2 separate regions of the Homo sapiens genome follow, and region 2 is linked to region 1. Evidence: promoter capture Hi-C in human tissues and cell types (Jung and others, 2019). All regions are on one chromosome and are shown on one strand. Each heading gives the region's core, a stretch centred on a gene start or on the middle of the fragment in contact. The rest is flanking DNA. Distances are from core to core; before and after follow the strand shown.

Region 1 (7,800 bases), core at 3,650-6,149:
CCTTACTAAGGACCTGTCAGATATCCAGCCCTGTTTTATTTCTAGTGATAGGAATGCTAAAAAGTATGTGTCCAGGGAGGGTGACTCAGGGCATTAGAAGGGATGATCCACTGCTCGAGTTCCCAGACAGAACTTTTCAGACAGAATTTCTGGGAAAAGCAAAACCAGTGGTGGGCACTGAGGATTTCATTTTGCAATATTCTGCCAGACCCAAAGCCTGGTCTGCTCAGGAGGGGGACAGCCCAGTGGATTATGGGAGATTTCTCAGGATCCTGAGACAATTAATGATGCTACTTTTGACATGCCTGAGGGTGGCTAAAACTGAAACACAGAGCAATTATGCAACCCAGCCAGTCACGTAGCATCAGCAAGGCTGAGCTGGGTCAGATTTCTGGACTCCAGACTTACGTTTAATCCGATGAGATTCACAGCCATGCTGTTATCCCAGCATAGACTTTGTTTAGTCACAGAAGCTGTTAACATAATTTCAGAGATGTGTGGCCAGGGACTCCTGGGTCATCTGGTAAAAATGACGTTACCAGGAAATGAAAGTACTCAAAGCTCTAGAGAAAGTGTGTGTCAGGATCAAATAGGAAAAAACAAACAAACAAACAAACAAAAAAACCCACATTAAAACAAGAAGACCAGAACAGGCTTATGTTAGTCTGTTCTCACATCGCTAATAAAGACATACCTGAGACTGGGTAATTCATAAAGGAAAGAGGTTTCACTGACTCACAGTTCTGTATTGCTGGGAAGGCCTCAGGAAACTTACAGTCATGGCGGAAGGCAAAGGAGAAGCAGGTACCTTCTTTACAGGGTGGCAGGATGGAGTGCGTGCAAGCAAAGGAAATGCCAGACGCTTATAAAACCATCAGGTCTCGTGAGACTCAGTCACTATCATGAGAGCAGCATGGGGGAAACAGCCCCCATGATTCAATTACCTCCACCTGGTCCCACCTTTGACACGTGAGGATTACAATTCGAGGTGAGATTTGGGTGGGGACACAGAGCCAAACCATATCAGGCTGTATATGTAGGCAGAGAAACTACTGTACTATGGACAACATAGGTATACGGTAAGAGTATTACTGCTTCACTGATAACTTCTAGAACATGCTGAGGTTGGTGCAGCCTCCAGTACTTAAAATAATATGAATTCAGAAAAAGACAACTTGTAGTTCCACGTGTGTATTTATGTGTGAGTATCTAGTTATGTCAGAATTCACATTTTTTTTAAAAAAAAAGTTTTATGAAGACTCAAAAGAAGTTGGAAAAATGTCCATCTTTCACTTCCTACTCTTTCTCAGTTTCTTTTTGTTTTCCATTCAGTGAGACAAAAGGTAGTGGAAAAAGAATGGGTTTTGGAGTTGCATAGATCTGGGGTCAAGTACTGACTGTACTGCTAGTGATTTGACCTGGAGCAACTTTGCCTCTTTGACTCTTTGACTTTCAGTTTCCTTATCTATGAAATGGTTGTAATAATACCTGACCTCACAGGACTTATGTGTACTTGGTATATGATAGACACTAAGCTAGATTTGAACTGCAGTGTATCTTAGACTCATTTAAAATACAAGTTTAAAATGGATTTATCAAAACAGAATAATATCGATGCAAAGATAGACAGATAGATCAAAGGAACAGAATGAAGAGTTAAGAAATAGACCTGCTTATATAAGGTTAATTGATTTTCAACAAAGTTTCCAAGATAATTTTAAATAGGAAAAGGAGTCTTTTCAACAAATGATGCTGGAGCAATTGGACATCCATAAGCAAAACAAAAACAAACAACCCCTCCCCAAAATCCTTGACCTATATCTTACATTTTAGACTAAAATTAACTTGAAATGTATCATAGACCTAAATGTAAGGCTGAAACCATAAAACTTCTAGAAGCAAAACAGGAGAAAATCCTCATGACTGGGTTAAGCAAATATTTCTTTGATAGGATTCAAACAGCACAACCAAAAACATTTAAAATAAATTGGACTTCATCAGAATTAGATATGTTTGCTCCTGAAAAGACACTGTTCAGGAAATGGAAATGCTAGCCGAAATTGATTTATTTCTTTAACATTGCTGTCTCCTAAAACTGAGGCCCGGGGTAGATATAATTAATAATTCTTGTGCAGTCCCATCCTCTCCCGACAGAGTGCACTTTCTAGATGTACCCTCTCTCCCTCATTCTTTATGCCATTATTCAGTGCCATCATTCTCGCAATCCCTGTCATGAGTGAGGGCTGGGAAGAAGATTGAGCTATGCATTTTGAAGTTGGAATTCCCTTCTCTTAAATTCCATTCCTGGGAGTGACAGACAGGGGAAGGAGCAGTGATAAAAAGTCTGGAGTTAAAAGTCTGGAGATGGGCACACACATGACAGGAGGCAACCTGAAGCCCTTGGGAGCAACAGCGTACTCCTAACAATGACAACTAAACACAGGCACTGAGCATGTGCATTTGGCCAGACATGGTGCTTTCTTTGCATCATTTCATTGAACTATTTTATTCTGTTCTGTTCTATTCTATTCTATTCTATTCTATTCTATTCTATTTATTTAGAGATCTCGCTCTGTCACCCAGGCTGGAGTGTAGTGGCATGTTCAGACCTCATTGCAGCCTTGAACTCCTGGTCTCGAGTGATCCTCCCACCCCAGCCTCCCAAGTAGCTGGGACTACAGGCACTCGCCACCAGGCCTAGTTAATTTTTGTATTTTTTTGTAGAGATGGGGTCTCACTGTGTTGCCCACGCTGGTCTCAAACACCTGGGTTCAAGTGATTCATCCACCTCAGCCTCTTCAAGCATTGGGATTACTGAACTAAGACACTGCAGTTGGCCTCGTTTAACTCTAGTAGAAATATCCATGCAGGAAGTATGTGGGAATCGGGGCAGCAGGGACTCCAAGCAGGCACCCCAGAATTTCTTCTGGGCTGTTCCTTCCCTGACTCCTGCAATTAGTCCTGCTTTTCCTTTGGCTCTGACTTGCTTCGTCCTTTGGAATTCATTCTCGATGTTTCCCCACACTCATCTCTTTTCTTGGTTGTATTCCCTTGGGACTGTTGGCTCAGGTTTGGGGATTTATTATGTTTAAAACTTCAGCCTCTGTTTGGCTTCCTGGCACCAGGCTTTGTACTTCCTGCTCCTTGAATCTGGTAACTCCTATCCCCACCTCCTTTCTGCCTACTCAAAGCTTCCAGTCTTTGGTGTTGGACAATCCCTGGATGATGACCAATCTCGTATGTCCTAAGGTATACAATAAAAAATACCAGGGTCAACAATCAACAGGCATCTCTTTCTTGGGCCCATCTTGTTCTAGTGTCCCAGACATTCCAGTGTAGGCTTAGATATAGATGGAAGTGTTCTAGTGTTTATGATGGACACCTGTTGAAAAGACCAAGTCTACCATGGCTGAGGTAGCTATGGAGGGTTTTACGTATTAACACAATGGTGAGGGTATCTTTACTGGTGTGAGCACAGTTCCACTGTATGGATGATCGTGATGCTGGAGTGGTCGATGGTTGGTACCTCCAGTGCCAGCTGGGGATTTATGGATGAACACAGGTGAGTAGTCAAGTGGGAAAAATGGCAGCATTCAGTTCATCTTCCTATTCTTCCTCCAGGTGTCTTCTTAGAATCAGGATCAGGTGCAAACCCAGGGGGGTTCCTGTAGCAGCAGTGAAAATTCCAGTGCCTAAGCTATATATGTTCAAGCAGGTCAGGTGGATGTCGCATGCGTCAGTTTGACTACAGCAGAACCATGAGAGATGTTTCCTTTAGAGTTGGCCCACAAGACAGTCTGGCTGCAATCCACAGGCCACAGACAACTGGAGGGAGTGGATCTCTCCCAGTTTCCTTCCACTTAGCATGAAAGCCTCAGAATAAGCAGCCCAGGGAGCAGAGAGACTGACATTAAAGCCTGCAATTCCTCTTCCAATTTTGATCACAGCAGCCATTTAAACACAGGGTCTACCGAGGTTTAAAAAACTTGAACTGTGCTTAGTTGCACTCTGAAATAGTCCTGCTCCTCCCCTGACCTACGAGAGACAGCAAAGAGACGTGTCAATAGCCTCCGCATGAGGCTTCAGAGGAGCAGCTGTGTATGGCAGGACGGAACAAAACCTGCCCATAGTATCTTTTACGACAACATGTTTCCACTTAATGCAGACCACTGAAAAGAATGTGGGAGCTTTTAAAAAAAAATTATTATAAACATAGGTTTGTGACCTTGATGTGGAAGGCAGCTAGAATCTCTGCTTTTAGAGGGCTAAGCAACACCAGGCAGCCTTCAATCTTAGAAGGGTTAAGCTGAAAGGGTCTCAAAAGGTCACGTGGTTTATATAATCCTACCTGCAGAAGACCCCCCCCCCCGCCAGGCACAACGATTTTACAGACGAGGAATGTGAGGTGCGGAGAGGTTAAGGAAGGATTTATCTTATTTGCATAAGGAGTGGAAGAACTGAAACCGAAGCCCCAGTTCCTTGACTGTAAATCCCGCACTTGCTTCCAACTGTCTTTCATCCAGATTATGGGATTCAGCTGCCTCTGAAAACCTGTAGCCCAATAATGGTTATTCCCCAGGAGCCGCGCGAAGCATGAGCTAATTTTCAGTGAGCGCGGACTTTGGGGTAACGGTTCCAGCACAGCACATCCCTTTCTCCTCTTTTCACTCATCGTCACCGCTACCTGAAAACCCTGGCCGGGTGCTGGGGCTTGAGGAGCAGTTCCCACTTCCCAGTCTTTTTCACTTTTCACAGCTGCAAAGTTCAGGGAGTTGAACTGCAGTGCTTTCAGTTCACTGCTCACTCTGCCACGATCAATCTCTGTTGTAAATTTTCCTCCCAGAGCACGTGACGATGCACTTCTTGACTATATATCCCAACTGCAGCAGCGGAGTTGTCAGAGCGCAGAGCCGGACAGAGCAGAAGAACCCTCTTGGACTGGACGATTTGGGAATTCAAAACTTGGGACAAACTGTCAGCCTTGGTAAGTCAGCAAGGCTACACTTTGCTTTCAGAAACATTTGAAAGAGGGACATTTTTGCCAATTAATAGATGAATTTTTTTCCTTTATTTTCTTCCTGCTTTTCTTTGTTCTAAGGAAACATTGTTTTGAATTTAAAATAGTTTGGTTTTGGAAACACAATGTAAACTTTGTTTCTGCTCAGTTAAAATACGTTTCCCAGTTTTAAAGATACTATTTACTGTATGCTCCTGTCTTACATTGATTTTTTTTTTAATCAAAGTAATACTGCTCACTACAAACAGGACAAATGTGTACACTAAAAAAAAAAAAAAAAGTCCTTCTTACTTTTCCCAGTGAACCTTCCCGGGCTTCTCTCCCGTGCACTCCAAGCCCTCATAGCTCACTCTTGTCAGCTGTTTGGCGAACCCTCTTATGCTATTTCTTTCATGCACTTTTAAGCTTTTTTGGTATTGCAGTTCCACAAACCTCGTGCTCCCCCACCTCCCTGTGCCCAGGACCTGGGGGAGAGTTCTAACCTGCGGCTTTTTCCCCAGCCCCTGCTGTGGAGGCAGCCTCAATGCTGAAAATGGAGCCTCTGAACAGCACGCACCCCGGCACCGCCGCCTCCAGCAGCCCCCTGGAGTCCCGTGCGGCCGGCGGCGGCAGCGGCAATGGCAACGAGTACTTCTACATTCTGGTTGTCATGTCCTTCTACGGCATTTTCTTGATCGGAATCATGCTGGGCTACATGAAATCCAAGAGGCGGGAGAAGAAGTCCAGCCTCCTGCTGCTGTACAAAGACGAGGAGCGGCTCTGGGGGGAGGCCATGAAGCCGCTGCCTGTGGTGTCGGGCCTGAGGTCGGTGCAGGTGCCCCTGATGCTGAACATGCTGCAGGAGAGCGTGGCGCCCGCGCTGTCCTGCACCCTCTGTTCCATGGAAGGGGACAGCGTGAGCTCCGAGTCCTCCTCCCCGGACGTGCACCTCACCATTCAGGAGGAGGGGGCAGACGATGAGCTGGAGGAGACCTCGGAGACGCCCCTCAACGAGAGCAGCGAAGGGTCCTCGGAGAACATCCATCAGAATTCCTAGCACCCCCGGGACCCCTGCCGGTGGCTCCATCAGCCAGCAACCTTAGAGAGAGGAAAGACAGTTTTCAAGTGTCTGGTTTCACTTTCACAGTGCGGCTGCCACTTTGAAGAGACCCTTGGTAAACCCCTGATTCGGGGTGGGGTGGGGGACTAGGCTCAGCCGGAACCAGCACCTCCAAGGAGTCCGGGAGGTGCCTGTGGTTTGCACCCACCACTGAAAAAGCCGCGGAGATGCGCAGCGCGTACACTGACTTTGGGGCCTGGGTGTTGGGGTTCTGATCAGAATTTGGCGGGATGATATGTTTGCCATTTTCTCACTGGATGCCCTGGGTAGCTCCTGCAGGGTCTGCCTGTTCCCAGGGCTGCCGAATGCTTAGGACACGCTGAGAGACTAGTTGTGATTTGCTATTTTGCCTAGAGCTTTGTCCTTCTAGATCTGATTGGCTGTAAGTATCTCTACTGTGTACCTGTGGCATTCCTTCACAGTGGGTTACAAGCTTCTTTTGGATTAGAGGGGGATTTTTGATGGGAGAAAGCTGGAGATCTGAACCCAGCCCATTTGCACACTATAAGAAAAAAAAGTAACTTTTAAACCTGTTAACATTGGCCGGGGTTATAAGAGATGATCTTCTATTTTGACCTTTTGTCTAACTTATGACCTTGAACTCTGACCTGTGACCATGCAGCATCACATGATGGCATGACGTTCTTTGGATCAGAAGAGCTTCCCCAGAATCTAACCTGCACTCCCGATGGTGGTTCAGGAGACTCTTCCTGATCTTTCTAGAAGGGGTAAAGTGGGGTTGAACAAGGCCAAGCCGTTAGCTCTGCTGCTGCTCAGTTTCCCAGCCTAGTTTTCTGAGCTGGGAGAGGACATAATGTGGTATTTCGTCACGTAGCTGAGACCTAGAAGGGCATACTCAGGCGGAGATTGCACAAAGCTGGGCTCCAAGTTCTGTGCTTCCTGATCCCGAGCCCTGACACTCATTTGCTGTGTGGTCCCGGGCATGTCATCAAGAAGCTCGCTGTCTGCATGAGGCTCCCGACGATCTCCATCCCCAGGGGGTTGGGAGGATGTCTTTAGATTTTAGGACTCTGTGATAAATATTCCACAGCCTGGTGTGAGGAAGCTTGGACCAAATGCTTCCCCTTTGGCCGGTTAGTCTGAACAAGGATCTGCTGATTTAAAGGAGCAGTTGGAGATTCAGAACACATATAACTGGGGAATTCAGGGCAAGCTACCAACCCAGCCCTGCTGTAGTTTTCCCAGGACTGAAGGAAAGAGGCAGACACCACATTCTCCTCTGCAAAGTTCTCTGGAGAATGTGTGATGTTAACACTCCCAGCTAAGGGAAAGCAAAGTCTAAAGGAAAACACACAGGAATGCTTCCAATGTCTCCAAGTATTCCTGTGGTCAACAGTTTCGCAGATCCGTTAGGCCCTTAAAGACAAGGAGGAAGTAAAAGGTCAAATTTAAATCTATTTAAAAAAACTTTTAAAAAAATTATTTATTTATTATTATTTTTTATTTTTAAGACAGAATCTCGCTCTGTTGCCCAGGCTGGAGTGCAGTGGTGCAATCTTGGCTCACTGCAACCTCCACCTCCTGGGTTTCAGCGATTCTCCTGCCTCAGCCTCCTGAGTAGCTGGGATTACAGGCGCCTGCCACCACGCCCAGCTAATTTTTTGATTTTTAGTAGAGATGGGGTTTCGCCATTTTGGCCAGGCTGGTCTCAAACTCCTGGCCT
Region 2 (7,800 bases), core at 3,704-6,203, 410 kb after region 1:
TATATTATACTGTATTGTACTATACTATACTATACTATACTATACTATACTATACTATACTATACTCTTCTATACACTATAGAACAAGTGTGAATAATTCCTAATTTATCCTATCTATTCACCAGATCATTCTTGTTCATTAACATTACCTAAACTTCTGGTGTAGGCAAATTCCTTTCTTCATATTATTTGTAATACCGTAGATTATTTTTGAGGTAGATTGGTGTTATGGGCTTTGAGGTAAATTGATATTGTGCTTCCCCTCAAATTCATATATTGAAGTCCTAGCCCCCAGTACTTTAAAATATGACTGTACTTAGAGATATGGCCTTTAAAGAGATGATTAAATGAGTTCATTTGAGTGGGCCCTAATCTAATCTGATGAGTGTCCTTATAAGAAGAGGAGATTAAGACATACAGAGAGAGAGACTAGGGAGGCCCACTCACCATGAAAAGGCCATGTGAAGACACAGCAAGAAGGCGGCCGTCTGCAAGCCAAGGAGGGAGACCTCAGAAGAAACCAACCCTGCCAACACCTTGATCTTGGACTTCCAGCCTCCAGTACTGACAGAAAAATAAATGTCTATTGTTCAAGCCACCCAGCGTATGGTATTTTGTTATGGAAGCCCTAACAGATTAGTACAGCTGATAAACTATTTGTGGGTATATAGATCTGTGTATGGATGTCATATACAATCTATTTTTTATTTTTATTTCTTTTTAATATTTGAGTTTCAGACATGCAGCCCATAAAAGTAAGTTTTTCAGGTAGCTGGTAAATAAGGCTGGTTCATATTGTCTGGACTAGAAAATTTTGATTGACTGTTATATGTGAGCATGAGTGCATAGATATTATCTGGATAAAGTCCTAGCAATAGACATTATTCTGCTCAGGCACTGAATCCTAATGTATGTAGAGGATAATATTATTAGGTGGATTACTGCTGATATTTGTGAATAAAAATTACATACAGCTGCTTGAAATAAACCTTTGTTTCATTTCACTTGTAAATCTTCATACTTGCTTTAGTTAATATAGTGACTAGGCAGTTTGTATTAGTGTTTGACTTTAACAAAAGTAAAATAAATGCACACAATGGTAAATATAAACAAGCATATGCACACAATAGTAATATAAGCTTTCTTTTTTCAGAGAAGTATTAAATATATATGCACTTAAATTGGTATGCCTTATAAAAGTTGATTTGGTGAAAATTTAAGTGAATTATGTTTTTCTGCTAAACAAGATTTTCCAAAGTATATGTAACATTAAGTAGGTAAAAAGTCCCAGTGAATAGATTTTGAGTTTAAATAGGAATATTTTGATATCTCATGTAAAAACGCAAAAAAAAAAAATTTACCATACTTGGAATTGTGTTTTTTATCACTAAACATATCTTCAATTAAATTAATGTCAAGAACTTTGATTTATTGAAAAGTTTAAAACATCCTTTTATGTTTGAAAAGTCTGTACCTTTGAATAAAAGACAATCATATACCTTATTGTACCAAGGATCCACCCAGAATTATATAGGCTACTTTACTTACATTCTAAACAAAAGCTCTAAATTGAGACTTCATTTATTAAAACTTCAGGAAAACCTATTACAAACAAAAATTTCTGGACTTGGGATTCCAAATTAACTAAATATTTCTTTATTTCTCCACTACCATTAATTTCATGTTTAAGATAGCGAAATAGGCAATAAAAAGCTAACACCTCCAAAAATAATTGGTATAGCTTCTTTAGAGGAGAATTTAGTAATATTTTGATAATTATGAATCTTAGCCAGATGTGGTGTGGCTCACTTTTGGCCTCCCTGAACTTTGGGAGGCCAAGATGAGAGGATTGCTTGAGGCCAGGAGTCAAGACCAGCCTGGGGCAACATAGTGAGGCCCTGTCTCTACAAAAAAATTAAAATTTTGTTGGGTAGTCCTAGCTACTCCAGAAGGCTGATGGGGAAGGATTGTTTGAGCCCAGGAGATCAAGGCTGCAGTGAACTATGATCTTGCACTGCACTCTGGCCTGGATGACCGAATAAGACCCTGTTTCTAAAAACAAAACAAAACAAAACAAAAAACAAACCAAAAAAAAAACCCACTGTGGATATTGTACTCTTTGACTCAGAAATTTCCATTTATCTTTAGGTATACCCAAAAACTTCATTCACAAAACATATTTACAGGCATGTTCAATACAGGATTATTTCTAGTAGTAGAATGTTTATCAACATGAGACTAGGAAACTAGAGTGTAACCAAATGGAGGAATAATATGGAACTGTGAAAAAACAGGTATATTTGTAGGTAGTGATGTGGAAATATACTTAAGACCAAGCAGAAAGATTAAGGTGCAAAATTCCTTATATAATTTGATACCTTTTATATAATTTATAAAAAGGCAACATAATATATAGATTTATACATGCTTAAAGATACATATGATTGTCTACTTTTCCTGAAATTAATCATTAGACATTTTAATGGGAATTACTTTAGAGGAGTAAGACTGAAGGTGGAGAGAAAGGAGGCTTTCTATCTTTGTTTCGTGCCTTCCCATACTGTTTGAATTTCTGACCATGTGCATACATTGTATGCAATTATTTTTAATAGCAAAGGTGGTTACAGTGAGCTAATGAGCCATTTGTGTTTATTTCCTTTCAGATACTTTTTGTGTTTGAAAAAAAATTAGGAATATCATTTTAACACAGTTTTCAATTAAAAGATTTATCTTGTGTTTTTCAAAAGAATATTTAAAATGTTTCATTTGCTACTTTCAAATTGATGGCGTGGTATTCACTACCAATATCAATGGGCTGTATTATTTTTGGACACTAGAGGGAATTTAGAAATGAGAGAAAATACACTGAAGAACCAATATGGCTCCCAAAGCTCTCTGACTGGATTTCCTTACTCCCACTGAGAACCTCTTTAGAACAAAAGCATTACTTAAACCGTGGTTGACTTGTAGATATATTCCTAAGAGCTTGTATGTAATTGAATCATATCATAAGTTCTGGGGAGATTGCTGTTGAGAGGAATCCTAGTGTGGATTGTCTAGAAAATAATGAAGCTTTTGTAAGACAGGTAATCACTGCTAGTTTATCATTAGATGACAAGATTCTAGTGTTTTATAATCCTCTTTTCCAGAAGATACTGTAAATCTGAGGTGTGATTATGATTATATTGGTACAATCAGTTTTGTGTGCCTTGAAGAATGTAGGTACTCAATGAATGTTTAATCAACTAATTAAAGAAATAAACAGGCTAAAGAAACAAACAGTTATTGTATCTGGGATGTTTTCCCCCTTATTATCCTAATTTAAATGACTGACTGAATTCTATTCGGTAACCCTCCTTCTGCATGTATTCATCCATTTCTTCATGTGCTCACTGTAACCCAGGCAGAGTAACAGTCATTGGTGATAAAGATTCTGATCTCAAAAACTTTTCAATTTAGTGAGAAGACAGACAAGAATAAACAAATCGAAAGAACAAATTGATGGAGAAGATATGAGAAATAGGTGAGTGTGATAGACAAAAATAAAACATCGTGGGATAAACATTGCTAATAAACATCTGGATTTCCTGTACTTCTGAGTATATGTGGGTTGTACTTCTCCACCCTCTTGGTCATTCATCACTATTTGACTAGTTCTAGCCAGTAACATGTGAGTAGAACGGCAATGCAACTGCCAAGCTAAAGTATTGGATGGCTGGTGTTCAGCTCTCCAGCTCTTTCTTCCTTTGATGTGGCAATCAGGAAAGCATATGTTGACTTGAAGGTGTCATGAGATGAAGAAAACTGAAGTGCTGAGCCACCACATGGAAGGTGCCTTAGCTAAAGTGTTGCCATACTTGGAAAATTAATGTGAGTAAAAAAATAACTTTCATTATTTAAAGCCAATAAAAATTTGGAGCATAGCCAAGCCTATCCTGACTGATACACAAGATTAGGCAATGGAGAGTAATGGGGCAGTGCTCCTCATGTAGGATGGCCAAGGAAGGGTCCTCTTACAAAGTGGCAATAGCAGTACAGTTATTGTTATTTGGATGTGAATTTCAGAGTCAAGAAGGGGTAGCCGTGGAGAGGAATGGTTCTGGGATATTGCTGGTGGGCCCCTGCTTGAGTCATGGGAGGACACTTGTCAAAAGTATCGATACCTTGGCCTCACCCTAGACCTGCTGCGTTAGACCCTCTGGAGGCAGCTTTAGGATTCTGTGATTTTAATGAGCTCCCCAGGTTATTCTGATGCACAGCCAGCTCTTGCAACCACTGCATTCAGCTTCAAGCCCTGATGGTTTACCTTTCTGATATATATGGTATGATATATAGAAATTTCAAATTATATGCCTCTCAGTCTTTTCCTTACTCTGACAGGAAAAAAAAGGAAAACCACATTTCAATTCTCATCAAAAGGACTTTATCTTTTTCCCATAATTCTGACAGAATATGATTCCTTATATGTCTGTCTTAGTTTGATGGAATCGACTTTAAGTCTTCAAGTCATAATAATATGAAAGACAGGTGTTTTTTATTTGTTTGTCTTATTTTGACAGGATCAAACTGTAACTTCAAGAATATTATTTTGAGAAAGAAACATCGTGGTAGCCAGAATGTTTTTGCTGTTAGAATTTTTAAAAAATGAAGATCATTTATTGAATGCTTCATGTATGCACAATCATGCTGCAAAGTAATATATACTCCTCATTGAAATTTAATTTTCACAAAAATATTGGTGCCTTAAAATTTTTACTCTTTCCTTTCAATGATAGCCTAAAAACTTTTATTTTAATAACTACATTAATGAATAAATTAAAAAATTTAACCCAAGAAGCTGTAAAGAAGAATAGATTCTTGAGTAATTGTGAATTCATAGTCTTCATTCTAGTTATTTTATATATGTGAAAACTGAGTGATAAAACCTGCATTCAAGGCTTTAAATTTAGAACTAAAAAGGAAAGCTGCTGCCCAGAGGAAGGACTTACTATAGATAATTACTTTATAAGGTAGCCTCTATTCGATGTTCCAATTTCATATTTTTTAAAGCCAAATATAAAGTATGTATCACATCTAAGCCTCTTTGCAATTCTGTATAAAAATACTTTTTTAATTAAAATGCGGAGAGATGGTATACAAAGCAGACTGATCACATTTGTTTTTCTCTACTCCATTCCAGAACCTCCTTCTATAACAGCAAAACTATATAATGTATACAATTTTACGCCTTTATACAAAGTCAAGAGAACAGGGTAAAATCCTGCTTGCTGCACATAACGGAAGAAAAGTTAATACCAACGAATCCCTCCTCCAACTACCACAAAGACAAGAAGGATATGCCAATTCACCATAAACTACAATGATGGTGGAGAATAGGTCAGTTTCTCAGCATTGCAGCTTCAGCCCACAAGATTCCTGTATTTCCCCATATGGGACACTCAATGAGAGAGTGAGTGAATGAGAGAGAGGCACTAGATGACAAAACATTTACCCCTGGATTTTTGAGTCACCTTTTTACTTCAAATCCCAGATGACTCTAGCCAAATAAAAGGATAAATATTCTGTGTTGACCTATTTCCCTCAACCAGAGCCTGGGAAAGAATCTAAAATGGTAATTTGGAGGATGCCTCTTGCTGACAACCGAATGATCCTTTAAATTCAATCAGGTCTTTTAGTTATTAAACAATAACATTTGTTTATTATTATTGTTAAATTCACCACCAGAGGGAGCTCATCTTTTCCTGTCATCTAGAGACCAATAGACTACAAAGTAACGACTGTTCTCCTAATTTCAGTATTAAAATATATAATTTTTGCCTGGGATAAATGTTGGAATGTGTGTTTACATTGAGCTATTCTAGTTGTCTCAGAAAGCAGCAGAGAAACTTCAATCAACCACAAATTTGTTCTCCAATTTATTACCTCCTCACAACTTTCCCCAATGAAAAGAGAAAAATAAATCTACCTAGAGAATTACATTTTCCTCATGTACGCCTCTGGAATTTACCACACTTTTCTAATGAAGCATCACTTCAGAATTTTCTAGGCTCTCTGAGTCAAAGCACAGCAGAAGGATCTTTGGAGAAAAACGATTGGCTGCTTGATGTTTGCTAAGTCATTTGAAAGTCTAAGATATCTCAAATGGAAATCTCCATCTGTGGTGACATAAAATACATCTATATTTAATGTTAATAGTCACTAATATTAAGTGTAAATAAGCAGAGAGAAAGATCGTAGGACCCTTATTCACCAAATGGATGTAATCCATAACTAATTTTAAAAAATGAAGTCAATCTTTTGGTAGGGAAGTGAATGATCTCTGAAGGTAAACTAAAATCAAGTCCTAGAAGATGATATTTTAGTTTTCTTTTAGCATCTGCTTGTCAAAAGCAAGAATTTGATTTATTTAAGTCCTTTTTACTGCTAGTAGCAAATATATGCTTTTTAGGAAGCAGGACCATTTTTATATTTTTGAAACTCAGTGAGTCTGCTATACCTGTAAATATTTGAATACTATAAATGACTAGTGCTGAGGAGAAGGATATAGTGTTTCATTAAGTATTTGCTCCATTTTTAAAGAGCCCGTGACCATGGCAACCAGGTGCTGCCAACTGACCCCAATGGCAGCCACACTTGCTGCTTTATCTCAATTGCTACTGGGAGCACACAAGCTTTATAGATTTATTGAATCACATTAGATTATAGGCAATTTTTAAGTGGTTCAAAAGGAGAGGAATAGCTTGTTTTTAATCTAAAGAAGTAGAATTGTTATGCATGCATTATTTCCTGCAGGTAATATTCATACACAATTTAAGGATTTTAAGAAACAAACGAAAGAGATTTGTGGACGAATACGGCAGACAGATCATATGTGCTTATTCTTTGCTCCACCCCAGCACCTCTTTCAATACCAGTTAAAGGACATAAGGTAATAATTTTATGCCTGTCTACAAAGACAAGAGTGCAGGAGAAGAGAAGAGGGAAGGCCAGATTGTCAACAGAATTTTGGAAGTTGGAAAATAGATGGATGAGTCATAACTCATTTACAGAGCAGAAATGTTGAAACCAAACTGTCTGTTGGGGGTGGAGGAAATGACAATAACAAGCAAGCTGATTCATGCCATAGACCCTCAAAGGCACAGTGATAAGAGGGGTTAGAATCTTCTGAATAAGCCTAGGATGTGGAGCTGGGAACACAAGACCTAGTTGATTGAGCACTCACACCCCTAAATTTGCACCCCCAGACACTGAGTAAGGTAACTTTCCTGGAGAGGCAAGCTGAGGGAGCAGTGTATCATAGGGCTGAAAACAAGGGTAATGAGTGGAAATCTGGATACCAAAGAGCCAGGCAGTCAGCTTCCTGCCCCACCCAGCTCTCAAGCCCTGGACTGGATATTGGCTGATTCTTCTTGAGATATAGGCAAGACACTGCTTTCTTATTAATCTCATACTAGTATTAGACTTTTAAACTATATATACATATTTATCACTAAAAAATAATAATAAATTATTAATAGCAGGAAAAAACTGATTTGAATCAGTGCCCCAAGCCATAGAGATTACATATGTGGTATATAGTGAAAAATTTTAACGTGCATGTCGCTACTCAGTTATGCCAAGTGACAGCTTGTTGTTGGACTTATTCTGTTGCCTTGGAATTGGACATAGAGAGCCAAAGTGAGGCTTGAAATACTGAAAGTAACTGCATCCTAAAAAGAGCTGCAAAAAATGAAGATGAGACAACCTCTCCAGAGCTTATAAAGATGTAAACAGATACTGCTACCCCCAGCCACTATGTCC

What was found. The method cuts DNA at HindIII sites, captures the fragments that hold promoters and counts their contacts. A contact is called where the count stands out against the background at its distance.
Region 2: a fragment that was not itself captured here is called in contact with the fragment with the promoter of KCNE4 in region 1 in 1 of the 25 tissues and cell types used here (IMR-90 fibroblasts).

What each region holds. Positions count from the first base shown.
Region 1 is chr2:223,047,291-223,055,090 of GRCh38, forward strand. It overlaps KCNE4 (potassium voltage-gated channel subfamily E regulatory subunit 4), which reads left to right and starts at 4,900. Exons shown (of 2, transcript NM_080671.4): 1 at 4,900-4,984; 2 at 5,518-7,800. The coding sequence starts at 5,541. The coding sequence ends at 6,053. RefSeq lists enhancers at 1,496-1,555, 5,208-5,755. The HindIII fragment of the contact is 5,924 bases long and covers 62-5,985 here.
Region 2 is chr2:223,453,814-223,461,613 of GRCh38, forward strand. No RefSeq gene overlaps it. Among named protein-coding and RNA genes, the nearest start is that of SCG2, 140 kb to the right of the region's middle. The HindIII fragment of the contact is 5,697 bases long and covers 2,106-7,800 here.